Regions from separate parts of the Homo sapiens genome. Here region 2 is linked to region 1. Evidence: promoter capture Hi-C in 16 types of primary human blood cells and fetal thymus (Javierre and others, 2016). All regions are on one chromosome and are shown on one strand. Each heading gives the region's core, a stretch centred on a gene start or on the middle of the fragment in contact. The rest is flanking DNA. Distances are from core to core; before and after follow the strand shown.

Region 1 (6,476 bases), core at 1,952-4,451:
GAGGCACACAGACGCCATCCCTACCCATCCTTAACCCTGGAAACATTTTCCTATCCTCATGCAGAATGAAGAAGTTGGGGGAAGGGTTGGAATGGGATCTCAGCTGGAAAGAACCTCGGATATGGAGATGGAGACCCCAGAGAAGGAAAGTGACTTGCTATGTTCACACAGCAACTCGTAGCTGAGCAATTCTCACTATCACGCCCATCCAGTCTCTATGGATCAAGCCAACGATGAACGTTACATGCCAGGCATTGTGCTACATAACCTTCACTTTAATTTTCTCTCGAAATGCTTACAGTAATGCTATAGTTCTAATATTCCCATTTTTCAGATGAGGAAGTCAAAGCCCAGAAGAAGAAAAGTCACTTTTGGCCGGGCGCAGTGGCTCAAGCCTGTAATCCCAGCACTTTGGGAGGCCGAGGTGGGTGGATCACGAGGTCAGGAGATCAAGACCATCCTGGCTAACACGGTGAAACCCCGTCTCTACTAAAAATATAAAAAAAAATTAGCCGGGCGTGGTGGCGGGTGCCTGTAGTCCCAGCTACTCGGGACGCTGAGACAGGAGAATGGCGTGAACCCGGGAGGCGGAGCTTGCAGTGAGCCGAGATCGCGCCACTGCACTCCAGCCTGGGCGACAGAGCAAGACTCCGTCTGAAAAAAAACAAAAAACAAAAAACAAAAAAAAAAACAAGAAAAGAAAAGTCACTTTTCTGAATTGTCCCGCTGGCTGGTGGCAGAAACAGAGACAGAATTAAATCTCCTGATTCCCAGCCCAAGAGTCCTTTCTCTCTTTCCTTAGGCACCCCATCTTCTCCCGCTGCCTCTCCTGGCGCTGCCCCAGGTGCGAGATCAGGAGCCTCCCCAGCAGGGCTTTTCCTCCCCAGTGTCCTAGTGCTGGATCCCACTGTCTGGTCGTGCCTCTTTTCCTGTGCTGGACCAAGGCCCAGATAAGCAGCTGGGGATGCAGGGCTGAATGGAGCAGCAGGAAGAGGCTTCGGGCGGCCGAGTTCATTCAGAAGAAAGCCCAACTCAGAGCTGCCAAGGGCCGAGAGAAGCTTACTGCAGGGCTCTACTGCCCTGCTTGACTTCAAGGGTCCGAGCTCTGACAAACCTCTTTCCCTCTGACTAGTGTCTTTTACCAGCTTCAAGAGGAGGTGTGGATCCCCCGATCCCTGCTGCTTTATTCCTGGGATCTGTGCCAGAACCATCTATAGGAAGACCTGATCCAACCTCTCCCCCATTTTACAGACAAAGAAACTGAGGCTCAGGGAGGAGAGCCAGTGGTAGGGGCCAAGCTCACAGGGGAAGCAGAGCCAGGACTAGAAACCAAGTCTCGCTGCAGTCAATGCAAGCCCTCTGCCCTTATACCCTTGTCTTGTCTGCTGAATTATGCTCTCTCTGCCTGGGACAGGGGCCTTCCTCAGAGCGCAGGGTGACCAGGATGTGCTGCTTAATGGAGAACAGGGAGACCTCAGCCCCCATGCCTCCTTGACTCCGGCTCCTGTCCCTTGGCCTGGTTCCTCACCATCAATCTAGTGGCCTGGGACAGTTTAGGTGGAAGTCCAAGATGCTCAAGTCCTCTAAGGACTTGACTCTTGCCTGGCCAAGTTTATCTTGGTCCTGGGAGGTAGAGGTCAGCAGGTAAAGAGTCTCAAGTGCTTGATCACAGGGTGTGTGTGTGTGTGTGGCGTGTGAACAGGCATGCACACGCAACTGGTGGTTCACTGAAGAGGGGGCTCCCACTAGACTCCCCAAACAATCCACATTTCATCTGGGCAGGCCCTTCTGAACCCAAATATTTTCTCCCATTCTAAGTCCGTGCCCCTCCCCCATCAAGGCCTTAGGGCTGAGCCTGAGAGAGGGAGGGAGGGAAGAAGAGAGAGAAGCCACGTTTCCTTAGGGAGGGAGGGGAAGAGTGAGAAAGAGGAGAAAGACAAGCTCACAGTCGGACCTAGTCAAGAAGACATAGGGAGAGGGAGAAAGTCAGCCAGACTCCAGGAACAGAGGGACAGAGCAGAGATCTAGAGGCAGATGGAGAGAAATGGCTCCCTCCTCCTGAGCCATCACCCTATGTTGCCCTGACCGCCTCTTCCCAGCCCCCAGCCTCAGGTCCCTCCCTGGGGTGGGGGGTCTCTGGGCCTGATTCCCTGGGGCTGCCAGGGTAGCACCCTGAAATTTCTGGGCCTGGCTTCCCCGAGGGGTCGGGTCTCAGGCCCTCTGAACGTTCCCCGGTGCGCCCCCCAGCGGAGATCCAGCCTATGAGCCACCGAAGCCCCAAGGGAGGCGCAGGAAAGGGCGCTGCCACTTTGCGCCCAGTCTGGTCCTGGAACCTGGGGTGGGTTGGGGACGGCTAGAAGACGTGGGTGGAGGGCGGGATTGGTGTCTCTTGAGCTCAGATCCGAGGATCGGACGGACCCGATACCTCGATGGCCCCTTCCCCCTAGAAGGTGGAGGCCAGTGTATTCAAAGATTGAGCCCCCAGGAGGGGCGCTTAGCTCCAAACACATGTCGCTCCTGGAGACCCTGCGCTGAACCCTCTCCCCGGCTCCTGCCCAGTGATGTGTAGTCGGGTCCTTCTAGGGGCCCAGGCGCGCCGCGAGGACGGGTGCCGAGGGGTGGAACGGGAACGGAGACCCTTCATCTTACCGCATTGTTGAGGAAGTCCGACTCGTTCAGATCCCCCAAGTCCAGGAAGCTGGATCCGGGGAACAGCCTGTCGGCCGGGAAGGGTTCCAAGACGGCGTCCATCGCAGCCGGCTCCCGGGACCCCCTTCCACTGGGCTTCCCTCACTCCAGGGCGGCGGCGCGCCCAGTCCAGAGCTCCTGCCTGAGCGCTGGCAAACGGGCGGGGGGCAGGTCCGGGGCGAAGCCCCGGGGGAGGGGCGGACGGAGGCGGCGCGGCCCCGGGTGGGGGGCGCGGGGCGCGCGGGGGCCTTAGGGCAGCGGCTAGGAGCGGGATGGGCTCAGGGGCCCCGGGCGCACCGTGGGCATTCAGCCGACTCCACCTCCTCCTGCTCCTCCTGGGGCACAGCTGGCTTCCATGGGGAGCCCGGGGTTGGGGCTGAGGGCTTCAGGAGCCCCCCGGACAGGGTGGGAGCCGGGGCGGGGGAGCTAAGTGCTCCCCCGAGACTGGGTGGCTGCCGGCCTCTCCTCTGTCTCTGCGTCTCCCTCCGCACGTCTTCTGTCACTTTCCTCTCTGTGAAACCGGGAACCCCTGGCTGGCTAGCCCAGCTGGCCAAGGCGCCACGCCCCCACATCAATATTCACAATAATTTAATATTAATGAGAAGAGGGCGTGGCTCGAGGAATCCTCTCTCCTTTTTTAAAGAGACATCTGCAACTTCGTCTTAGTAATCTCTCTTCTCTGAATGCTCAAGGTGGGGGCTTAAAGCAACAATAGTCCTGGAACCGATAACAGTGTTCCTGGAACATTGGCATTTTAAGGCTTCACCAACCACTGTCCCGTAAATTGATGAGGGAGCTATTTCCATCCTTCCAGCCTTATACTAAAGCCTGCACGAAACCCAGTCAGGGAATTCCATTTCACAGTCCCCTCAACAGATCTCCCCTCAACGGGGGAGATTTTCAGCTTTTTAAAAATTTTATTTATTATTATTACTATTTTTTTGACACGGAGTTTCGCTCTTTTTGCCCGGGCTGGGGTGCAATGGTGTGTTCTCGGCTCACTGCAACCTCCGCCTCCCAGTTTCAAACGATTCTCCTGCCTCAGCCTCCTGAGCACCTGGAATTACAGGCGCGCCCCACCACGCCCAGCTAATTTTTGTATTTTTAGTAGGGACGGGGTTTCACCATGTTGGCCAGGCTCCTCTGGAACTCCTAACCTCAGGTGATCCGGCCTCCTTGGCCTCCCAAAGTGCTGGGATTACAGGTGTGAGCCACCATGCCCAGCCGATTTTCAGCTTGTAACTCTCATTTCTCATCTCACCTGTTTCTTCTTCCAGGAAGCCTTCCCTGAACCCCCAGGCTGGAGCAGTTACCAACGGTATACACCCACAGGGCATCATGTGCTCACCTCCACTGTTTCCAGTCTAATGTGGTATTGTCCTTATTTGCTCACATTGTTTGTATCTGTGACCCCACTGAGCTGTGAGGCTCCTCAGGGCAAGGACAGTCCCCAGCTTCCCTCTGTGTGAAAGGGCTGGGTGAACAGCCAGAGATAGGAGAGTCCCCCTCTTCTCCTCGATAGTCAAGTCCCTCCCTACCCCCCAATGGTTCTGAAGAGCAGGAAGTTGGAAAACAGTGGTTCTGGAATCTGAATGAGCCAAGGTGCTGGCTGGCTGCACACTCCACAGTCACCAGACACTCCCAGGGCCCCGGGATCCATTACCTAAGTGGCTTGCTCCTGCGTACAAACTTAATCTCTTGAAAGGGCTGATAGCAATCGCCAAGCACCTGAACAAATGGAGGTGGTTCAGAAAGGCACTCCCTCAGAGGGCTGGGCACACTGTTTCCTGACCAGAAGTTATTAATAAGATTAAGCATGTCCTTTCTGTCTGGGACGTTTAATTAGCTCAGGAACCAAAGGCCTTTAAGAGGTAGAGATGTCATTGCAGCTAAGCCATGGATGTCACCAAAATTGCTCTCAGCACCAGGTGGGAGAAGGGTTCATACCAAGGCTGAGACAGCAGTTGTTTGCTTCCCTGGCAGGCAGGCAGTCACGTGGCTTTTCCCCACCTTATGATCTAGTTGACATAGTTCTGGAGAGTGAAGTTCTGACCTTCCAGGCTGTCACATGACTGTTAGCTCCCAGGCCTCCTGTAGAATTTGCTCCTGAGAAAGTAGGATTATAACCCATGCTCTGGGGACCAGTTCACCAGCCATGCAACTCCGAGAAGTAAGGCTGGGCCAAAAAGAAATCAATTCACTTTCACAACAGTGGCGGGTAGAATTAGGGTGCTGGGACCATGGGTGTCTTCCCCAAATGCGTCACATCTGGCCAAATGGGGACCATTCAAACACTGGGATGTGGCTGATACTTCTCAGGGGGAGGGGAGGGGTCTCTGGCTGGGTGAACAGGCTATCGTGAGTGAGCTCCAGCAGCAGGTGTCTGGAGTCCTGGCTACTAAGCTATAGTCCCTACAGGCCCCCAGGAGGAGAAAAAGTGGCCCCCCGCCTGAGGTTGGCTGGAAATTGTGCCTGTGTTCCTCCCAGCCTGCTCTGTAATTAGAGACACAGGTACCATTTAAGTGATTGGGGAAGATTATATAGTTTTAGATAAGTAGGATTAGAGTGTCCTCTCTTTCCTTATTCTTACCCAGGTGAACACCCCAGGAAACCATTGAAAATAATCCTGGGGAGCCATTCTGGTTCCAGCAGCTTCTGCGGAGTCTGAGAGGCAGAATCTCCCAAGAGAAATCCTGGGGAAAGGGGTGGCAGGGGGAGGAGGGAGACCAGGCAGTGTAGAGCCGGGCACACAGAGGAGTGTGATCATTTTCTTTCTGGAATGAAGAGGATGGCAAAGTCCAGCAGAGATGAGGATGATCGCAGATTTATTCACACATTCTACAAGCATTATTGAGTACCTACTGTGAATGGTTCCGAGACTAGGCACTGGAGACACAGCAGTGATTAAGAACCTGGATCCCAGAGTAAACGTGTTTGTACAGAGGTGGGTGGGTAAAAAAATGTTAAGAAGATGATTTCAGAGAGTGGTAAGGACTATGAAAAAATAAAATAGTGTGATGTGACTCTTTGGGTAAGGAAGGCCTCTCTGAAGAGGCCACATGTGAACTGAGAACTGAATCAAGAACTGGGGTCATTTATGGGGCAAAATGCAGGGAAAACATTCTAGGCAGAGGGAACAGCAAGTAGAAGAGAAAGAGGAGGAAGGCCGGACTGGGAAGAACAGGCAGTGGCGCAGGAGTGAGATGATGAGGGCGAAACCCCAATGCCCTACACAAACCCCGTACTTATGGCCACACTGAAGCCCAGGCTCTATTCTGTGCCAGGACTGGAAAGAACTGTGCCCACCTAAAGCCTTCTGTAGGGTGTGGTCAGTCACACATCCCTTCTCTCTTGTCTATTAAAGATTTTCCAGGAGATGAAATGAGATGTCTCCCTGGGTCTTAAGTCTGCCTTCTAACCCAGCAGGGAGGGTTTGCTCCCTCCCTCCCAGTTCTTGGGCCTGGTCCCACAACCCAACCCCCCACCAAGGCCCCTCCTTTACATCTGAAGGAGTTAGGGGATGGAGGCCAACGTTGGCTCTGCAAACACCACCTCCACAGGCCCAAATACTGCAGGTCACGAGAGGCACTGATGGCAGCTCCTTCTGTGACGGGCTCAGGAACACCTGGTTGCTGCTCTCCATGAGCTGTTCCAACTGTGAAGCAAAAGCTTCATGCATAAAGGCATCCCAACGCAGTCAATGACGCACAGGAGAAAGAGGACAGAGATAAGCTTCTTGCCTGTTCCAGACACTGAGGATCAGGCAGAGAGAGAGGCTCCTGCCAGGC
Region 2 (6,476 bases), core at 1,162-3,661, 38 kb after region 1:
AATTTACCTTGAGCATTCTGCATCTTTAGGGTGTTGATGGTGAAAGTCTATTCCCTGTGAATAATTCTGAGAACTAAAACAGGCCTAATGTCTTCCTTCCCCTTCATTATTATCAATCACTCGATCCCAAGATTAAAAAAAAAAAGACCCAAAAGACTCATAAGCATTATTCGATGCGTCCCTTGCCAGACAGTCACTGTTGTTTGTTTTAGCTAGCATTTTCCTGTGAACAGTGGAGTATTATGTCACTATGGGATTCTCATTGTAATAGATGTTTCATAAATATGACCTGAATTATTTCAGTTGTCACAGTGTTCTTATGAATGGAAGGAAAGCCAACTAGGAAAGGATGGGACGGCATTGGCAGGTCCTGGAGCTAGAACATTCCCAAGTTCTGCTCCTGAAGGTCCATCAGGATCCAAACCTGCCAAATGGGTACCCCCAAGGTGGGGTTCTAAAGTCAGCAGGTATGGTCTCAGGAAGCTGCCCGGAGCTGATAGAATGTCAGATGTGTCTGGTCAGGCATGGTGGCTCATGCCTGTAATCCCAGCACTTGGGAGGTGGGCGGATCATCTAAGGTCGGGAGTTCGAGACCAGCCTGACCAAAATGAAGAAACCCTGTCTCTACTAAAAATGCAAAATTAGCCGGGTGTGGTGGTGCATGCCTGTAATCCCAGCTACTCGGGAGGCTGAGGCAGGAGAATCCCTTGAACCCAGGAGGCTGAGGTTGCGGTGAGCTGAGATGGTGCCACTGCACTCCAGCCTGGGCAACAAGAGTGAAATTCCGTTTCAAAAAAAAAAAAAAAAAAAAGTGTCTGAGTAGTTGTTCCCACATGGAGAAGCAAGTCAGTTACTATGGTGGAGCCAAACCTGAAAGTTGGAGCCATGAAGAAAGGAGCCAGGTGGAGGTGGGAACAGGAGAAGGTGAGCCCATGAGCTCATGCTAGGTTCTCTGCTGTCCTCCCAGCACCTACATATAATGGGCTCTCAATACATGTCTGTGGAGTGAAGGTACTGAAAGAAGGAGGGAAGAAGAAGCAGACTGAGGAAAGGGCAAAGAAGTCCAATAATTTTGCAGGAGGCCACCTGGGATGGCCAGGGTATTGGGTGAAGAGGGGGAATTCTTCCAGTTTAAAGGCACAGGGCAATACAGTCAGAACTATTAAGTGACAAGTCCCATGACTTTGTTTTCCTCGTTTGGAAAAACCTCCAGTTGGTGGTTCCAGAGCTGAGCAGTCATTCTACTTCACCAAGCCTAGTGACATCATCACCTATTGCCTCACCTTGATTGAATTTCCAGAGCAAATTTCTGGAAAAGGGAGGGGTCTGAGGAGTGACTGAGATCTAGAGGACAGGAATATCACCCCAGAAGCAACACTTCAAAACCATAAGCAGGCCGGGCGTGGTGGCTGATGCCTGTAATCCCAGCACTTTGGGAAGCTGACGTGGGCGGATCACCTGAGGTCAGGAGTTCGAGACCAGACTGGCCAACATGGTGAAACCCCATCTTTTCTAGAAATACAAAAATTAGCCGGGTGTGGTGGCAGGTGCCTGTAATCCCACCTATTCGAGAGGCTGAGGCAGGAGAATCACTTGAACCCAGGAGGCAGAGGTTGCAGTGAGTTAAGATTGTGCCATTACACTCCAGCCTGGGCTACAAGAGTGAGACTCCGTCTCAAAAAATAAATAATAATAATAATAATAAATAAAACCATAAGCAACGTGGTAGCCCAGATGGTCAGATGATGCAAGCATGTACTAAAAGGGTGATTTGTTTTACACATTCATTGGGCACTCACAGATTCTAGACACTATACCAAGCCCAGACCCAGACAAAGCTTCTGCCCTAAGGGCTTATGATCTAAATTCCTTGTGGAAAGTCTGTTTTTGAAATGTTTAAGGCATCTCATTTAATCCTCATTTCCATTTCAAGTCATGTACCTCCTTCCTGAGAAACCCACCACATTTTAAGTTTGTAGCTGGCTTTCCTTCTGTTTTTGCTATTTATGTGCCAATTTAAAGGGTGGGGAGAGCCACATTAATTTTAAAATAAAACACAAATAGCAAAATGAGGCTTGGTTAAAGGAAAAACCACAAAAGGGATTTTTTTTTTCTTTCTCCCATACTTTTCAGATTTTCCTAGAACCACCTTTATTTTCTCAGAGCCCAGACATAGAAAGTGAGTGGGCCTCTCCGGATGCTCTTCCAAGCTAAAGCCAAAAGCCTCATTCTTATTCTCTCCTTGCACCTTTAGGTTTTGTTTTTCTGTTCAACATCTGAGTCCCACATTGGGGACTCAAGCTGGTCAAGCCTCCCATGACATGTGGTATTTCTATGCACTCTCAGCGTAGATTTTGATTTGTTTTTCATGATTTGCATCTTACCTCTTCTGTTCAGTTGTTTCAGCGTGTACATTCTGGGTGATGAGAACATAGCTTTAAAGTCAGACACTCCTGGGAAGAATCCCAGCTTTGCCACTTACCAGCCTTGTGACCTCATCCATCAAACAGCAATCATCATCCACACCTCTTAGGGCTGTAGTGAGGATTAATGAGTCAAAGCACATAAAGGGCTCAGCGCAAAAGAAGCACTCTGTACTCGGTAGCTATTATGAAAATAGATCCTTTCATCTGTGTGCGCCTACTTAACCAACCCTCCCCATACCCACCGTATTTTGGAGAAGAGAAAAATTAGTCATTTATTCCAAGTAGATGATGTATCCCTATTTTAAATCACCAGAGGGCGAGAAGGGGAAGCAAGGCTGAATTTGACTTGCAGACATCTAGGCCTTTTAATGGGATGGGAATCAGTGTCCGCGCCTCTCAGCAGATGACAAAACCCGCTGTGCAGGGACTGGGGAAGTCTTGAAGGCCAGTGGTGGGATGGCAGGAGCACAGAAGATGGGGAAAAGTGGTCAGGGAAAGCAGGTCCAGGGCTGAAATGGTGGGCCTGAGGGATGGCAGCCACCAGGAAGGGAAGCTTCTTGCTTCGGGGTTCTGAGTCCAGGCGTCTGCAGGCCGACGTCAGCCTGCCCCGAGGTCCCAGTGACAGTGAGATCCAAGGCGTGTGCGGCAGCGCCCTCTGCCGGCCGCGCGGGGCAGGCGCCCAGCCCAGAGCCCGGCCCCGCAGTTCTGCAATGGGGACTCCAGTTCCCTCCGGCTGCCTCCGCCCCCGCTCCATCCCGACTGAGGACCGCGGACCCGTCCCGGAGTAGATTCCCGGAGACGCCTCCCTATCCTACGCCTGCGGGCTGAGCGGGGACGATGCTCAGACACACCCAATTCACCAGCGGATCGGAGGCCGCAGGAACCCATCCAAACCCCGCAGGGGCTGCGCCTCTGGGACCCAGGGCCAGACCCTGCTGGGCTGTCGGAAGTGGCATCGCCTATGGCCAAGACCGCGGGTTCTGCGTACAGAAAGGAGCCCTGGGTTCGCTTTCTGTCTCGTCCATTTTCCAGCTAGGTGACCTTGGGCAAGGTATTATACTTAAATTTCCATGTGCCTTAGTTGCCTCATCTTTAAGATGGACAGAAGGATCCCGTCCTTAGTGGGTTGACATGAGGATGGCATGGGGTCCGACAGCCGCGGTTGGAATTCTGGCACTGACATCAGCTAGCTGTGTGCCCTGGGGCAAGTTACTTAACCTCTCTGTGCCCGGGTTTCCTGCAAAATAGGGATGATAATGGTACTTACCTCCGAGGGTTGTTGCCTGCAAAGCGCTTAACACAGCACCTGGCACAGAGTAAGCGCTCAATAAATGGTGGCTACTATGGCTGTGGTCGTTATTATTGTTCCTAAAGGCGCTGAGCACACGAGTGGAGCTCTAGCTGGCAGCTATTATTAGTCTGTTTCTTAGGTCCAGCTATTTCTTTCCGGGCATTGTTCAAATCTTTTACCAAGAGCTCGCGTCCTTATCAGTAACCGAAGGACAGCCGGCCTTCCAGAGTTTGGAATGAACGAGGTTCCCCCGGAGGAGGGCCAAGGACGCGGCCGCGGGCTGCCGGGACCGGGACCTCCCGGAGGAAGCCCGCGCCGCGCCGCCTCCGCCCGGGCCTCCAAGAGCGCGTCAGAGCCGCAGTGACGTCGCCGGGCCTGCACGTGCGGGGAGCCTGGAGGGGGCCGGGAGGGCAGGAGGTCGGGCCGCTGGCAAGAGGCGCCTCGGGCCGCGCTGGGACCCTGCCCTCCGAGGCGGCCAGAAAAGCTGCGGGAAGGCCCGGCCTGGGTCCGCTGTTCCGCGCCTGCTCGCGCGGGGTGCGCTCGGGGCGCCGCCTGCCTGCAGCCCCGCGGGGAGGCCGGAGATGCCGACGCCCGCTCCGGGCCCCGGGGCCCGCTCAACCTGGCCGGGGGAGCTGAATTCCCGGCAGCCATGCGGCGTCGGCGCGGTCCTTTGCGCCCAGTCCCACCCGCCCGGATCCCACTCGTCGCCGTCCCCCAGCGACTCCCTCCGTTTCTTCCCCCTCTGTCCTCCGTCCGGACCAGCTCGTTTGCTGTCAGCGGTGGAGAGCCACTCTCAAGAGGCACCTCCCACCTCCGGCTCCCCGCCTGCAGCCCGGGCGCGCCCATCCTATCGCCCTCCCGACAGCTCCACGCGGTTGGCCCCGCGCGCACCGCCACTCGCCGCGTGTTGACCCGATTATTGTCTATCGCAGAGATGGCGCGACCGCCCAGCCCCTCGTCCCGATGCCTCGCCTTCCCTCCTGAACACTTCTCCAGGCACTCTGCACTCCATCCTCATTCCCACTTCATCCAGACCTCCCCGGCGCCCCGCCCCCCTTGGCTGTTGACACATTCCCCTCAAAGGTCTCCCCTGCATGCCTGTCTTCTTCAAATCCATCCTCCTCGCTCTGCCAGAACAGCCACCTGCAACCCCTGTTTTGCCATGCCTCTCGGCTTGGGGCCGCCCGGTCTTCATGGATGCCCTAGTCTGCCATTTTCTACACCACGCCTCCCGAGCTAGGCTCGGAGGCTGGAGCCCGCTGGGGCCACACTCTTGAAGGTCCTCAGGTCTTTGCTGCAGTTAGGCCCTATCCAGAGAATTTTCCCCTTCCTCCCTTCTCCCCCTCCCCCTACCGGCTTCCTCTTACTCATCCTCCAGAACTCAAGATGTGAGTCACCTTTTCAAGAACGCCCTCCCTGTTCCGCTATCTGGCCGAGTGAAGTGTCCCTGGGCCGCCTGCTGATTTTGTCATATTTAGGGGAGAGGCTTGAGCCTTCAGGATGGCCTGTGGGGTCCTGCATGGTCTGTGCACACCCCCTTCGCCTCCCCTCCCCTCAACATCAGCTCCTTTCTTCCCCTGCTCTGGCCACACAGGGGGTCTCAGTCCCTGGCCCCTACCTCACCTTCCCAGTCCAGCCTCTTAGCGCAGGCTTCTCTGCCTGAAACACCTTGCCGCCCTTCCTCTTCTACTCAATTTTCAGCTGTCATCTTAAGTAAGACTCAATTCGTCTGAGAAGCCTTCCCTGACCCACCCACCCCCAACTCAGTGGAATTCGCCTTTAATAGGTCAAAGTGCAATTCAAAAAAATTTAAAGCATACCAAAAAACTATAGCGAATAATATAATTAATCACTATTCTGTGTGCCTTCCCCTCCCCTAGCCACGTCTTTGTCAAAGCTTAACATTTGCTCTATTTTCTTCAGATCTTTTTTAAAGGACATAAAACCTCACAGATCTAGTCTTCTGAACTCATTTCTGTCCCTCCCCTATGGTAATCACTTTCTGCCTTTGAGTTTTACCATTCCTATGCATACTTTTGTATTTTTGCTACATATATTTGTGCCTGTAAGCACTTTACAGAATTGTTTGGTATGTTTTTAAACTCTGAAGAAATACCATTATACTGGGTATATAATTGTGCAACTTGCTTTTTTCACCCAGCAGGATAATCTTGAAATGTGTTCACATGGATACACGTAGTTCTAGATTATGCAATTTTCACTTCCTATTTGGGTCCCATTATATGAGTTCACCATACTTTATTTACCAATGTCCTTCTGAAGGACATTCAACTTATTTTTAATTTTTTTTCTGTTAGAAACAATATTGTGATTAGTATTTTTTATACCCATCCCCTTGTGTGAAAGTAAGTCTTCCAGTAGCCACTTGGGTGCAGAATTGCTGGATTCAAGGCAGAGGAACTGGCAGCTTTACTCAGCATGACTAAAAGTTTTTTCAAAGTGGTTGTACCATTCACAGTCTGATAGCAATATATGGAAGTTCCCATGCTTGGCATCCTCAACAACATTTGGTATTGTCAGACTTCAAAATTTTTGCCAAGCTGATGGGTGTGAAATGGCCTTTCAGTGTTTTAATTTGCAATTCCCTGTTAACAGGTGAGACTGAGCACACTTTCATTTGTTTGTTGGCCATTTCCTCATTTTTAAGTTGCTCATTGGTTTATTTGACAGTGCTTCTGTTAGATTATCTCTTACTATGAGTAGGAGTTCTTTATATATTCTGAGTACTAATCCTCTGT

Evidence for each region. Contacts are between HindIII fragments. The CHiCAGO score rates a contact against its expected background, and 5 or more counts as called.
Region 2: a fragment that was not itself captured here is called in contact with the fragment with the promoter of CREB3L1 in region 1 in 1 of 17 cell types (megakaryocytes); the score reaches 6.0 in megakaryocytes.

The regions. Positions count from the first base shown.
Region 1 is chr11:46,274,387-46,280,862 of GRCh38, reverse strand. CREB3L1 (cAMP responsive element binding protein 3 like 1) reads right to left here and starts at 3,201. Exons shown (of 12, transcript NM_052854.4): 1 at 2,650-3,201. The coding sequence starts at 2,751. LINC02489 (long intergenic non-protein coding RNA 2489) reads left to right here and starts at 6,436. Exons shown (of 3, transcript NR_183622.1): 1 at 6,436-6,476. The HindIII fragment of the contact is 5,299 bases long and covers 1,061-6,359 here.
Region 2 is chr11:46,235,926-46,242,401 of GRCh38, reverse strand. It overlaps LOC124902669 (translation initiation factor IF-2-like), which reads right to left and starts at 5,013. Exons shown (of 1, transcript XM_047427965.1): 1 at 2,673-5,013. The coding sequence starts at 4,563. The coding sequence ends at 3,853. RefSeq lists silencers at 2,998-3,207, 4,034-4,353, 4,464-4,513 and an enhancer at 5,099-5,148. The HindIII fragment of the contact is 1,141 bases long and covers 1,841-2,981 here.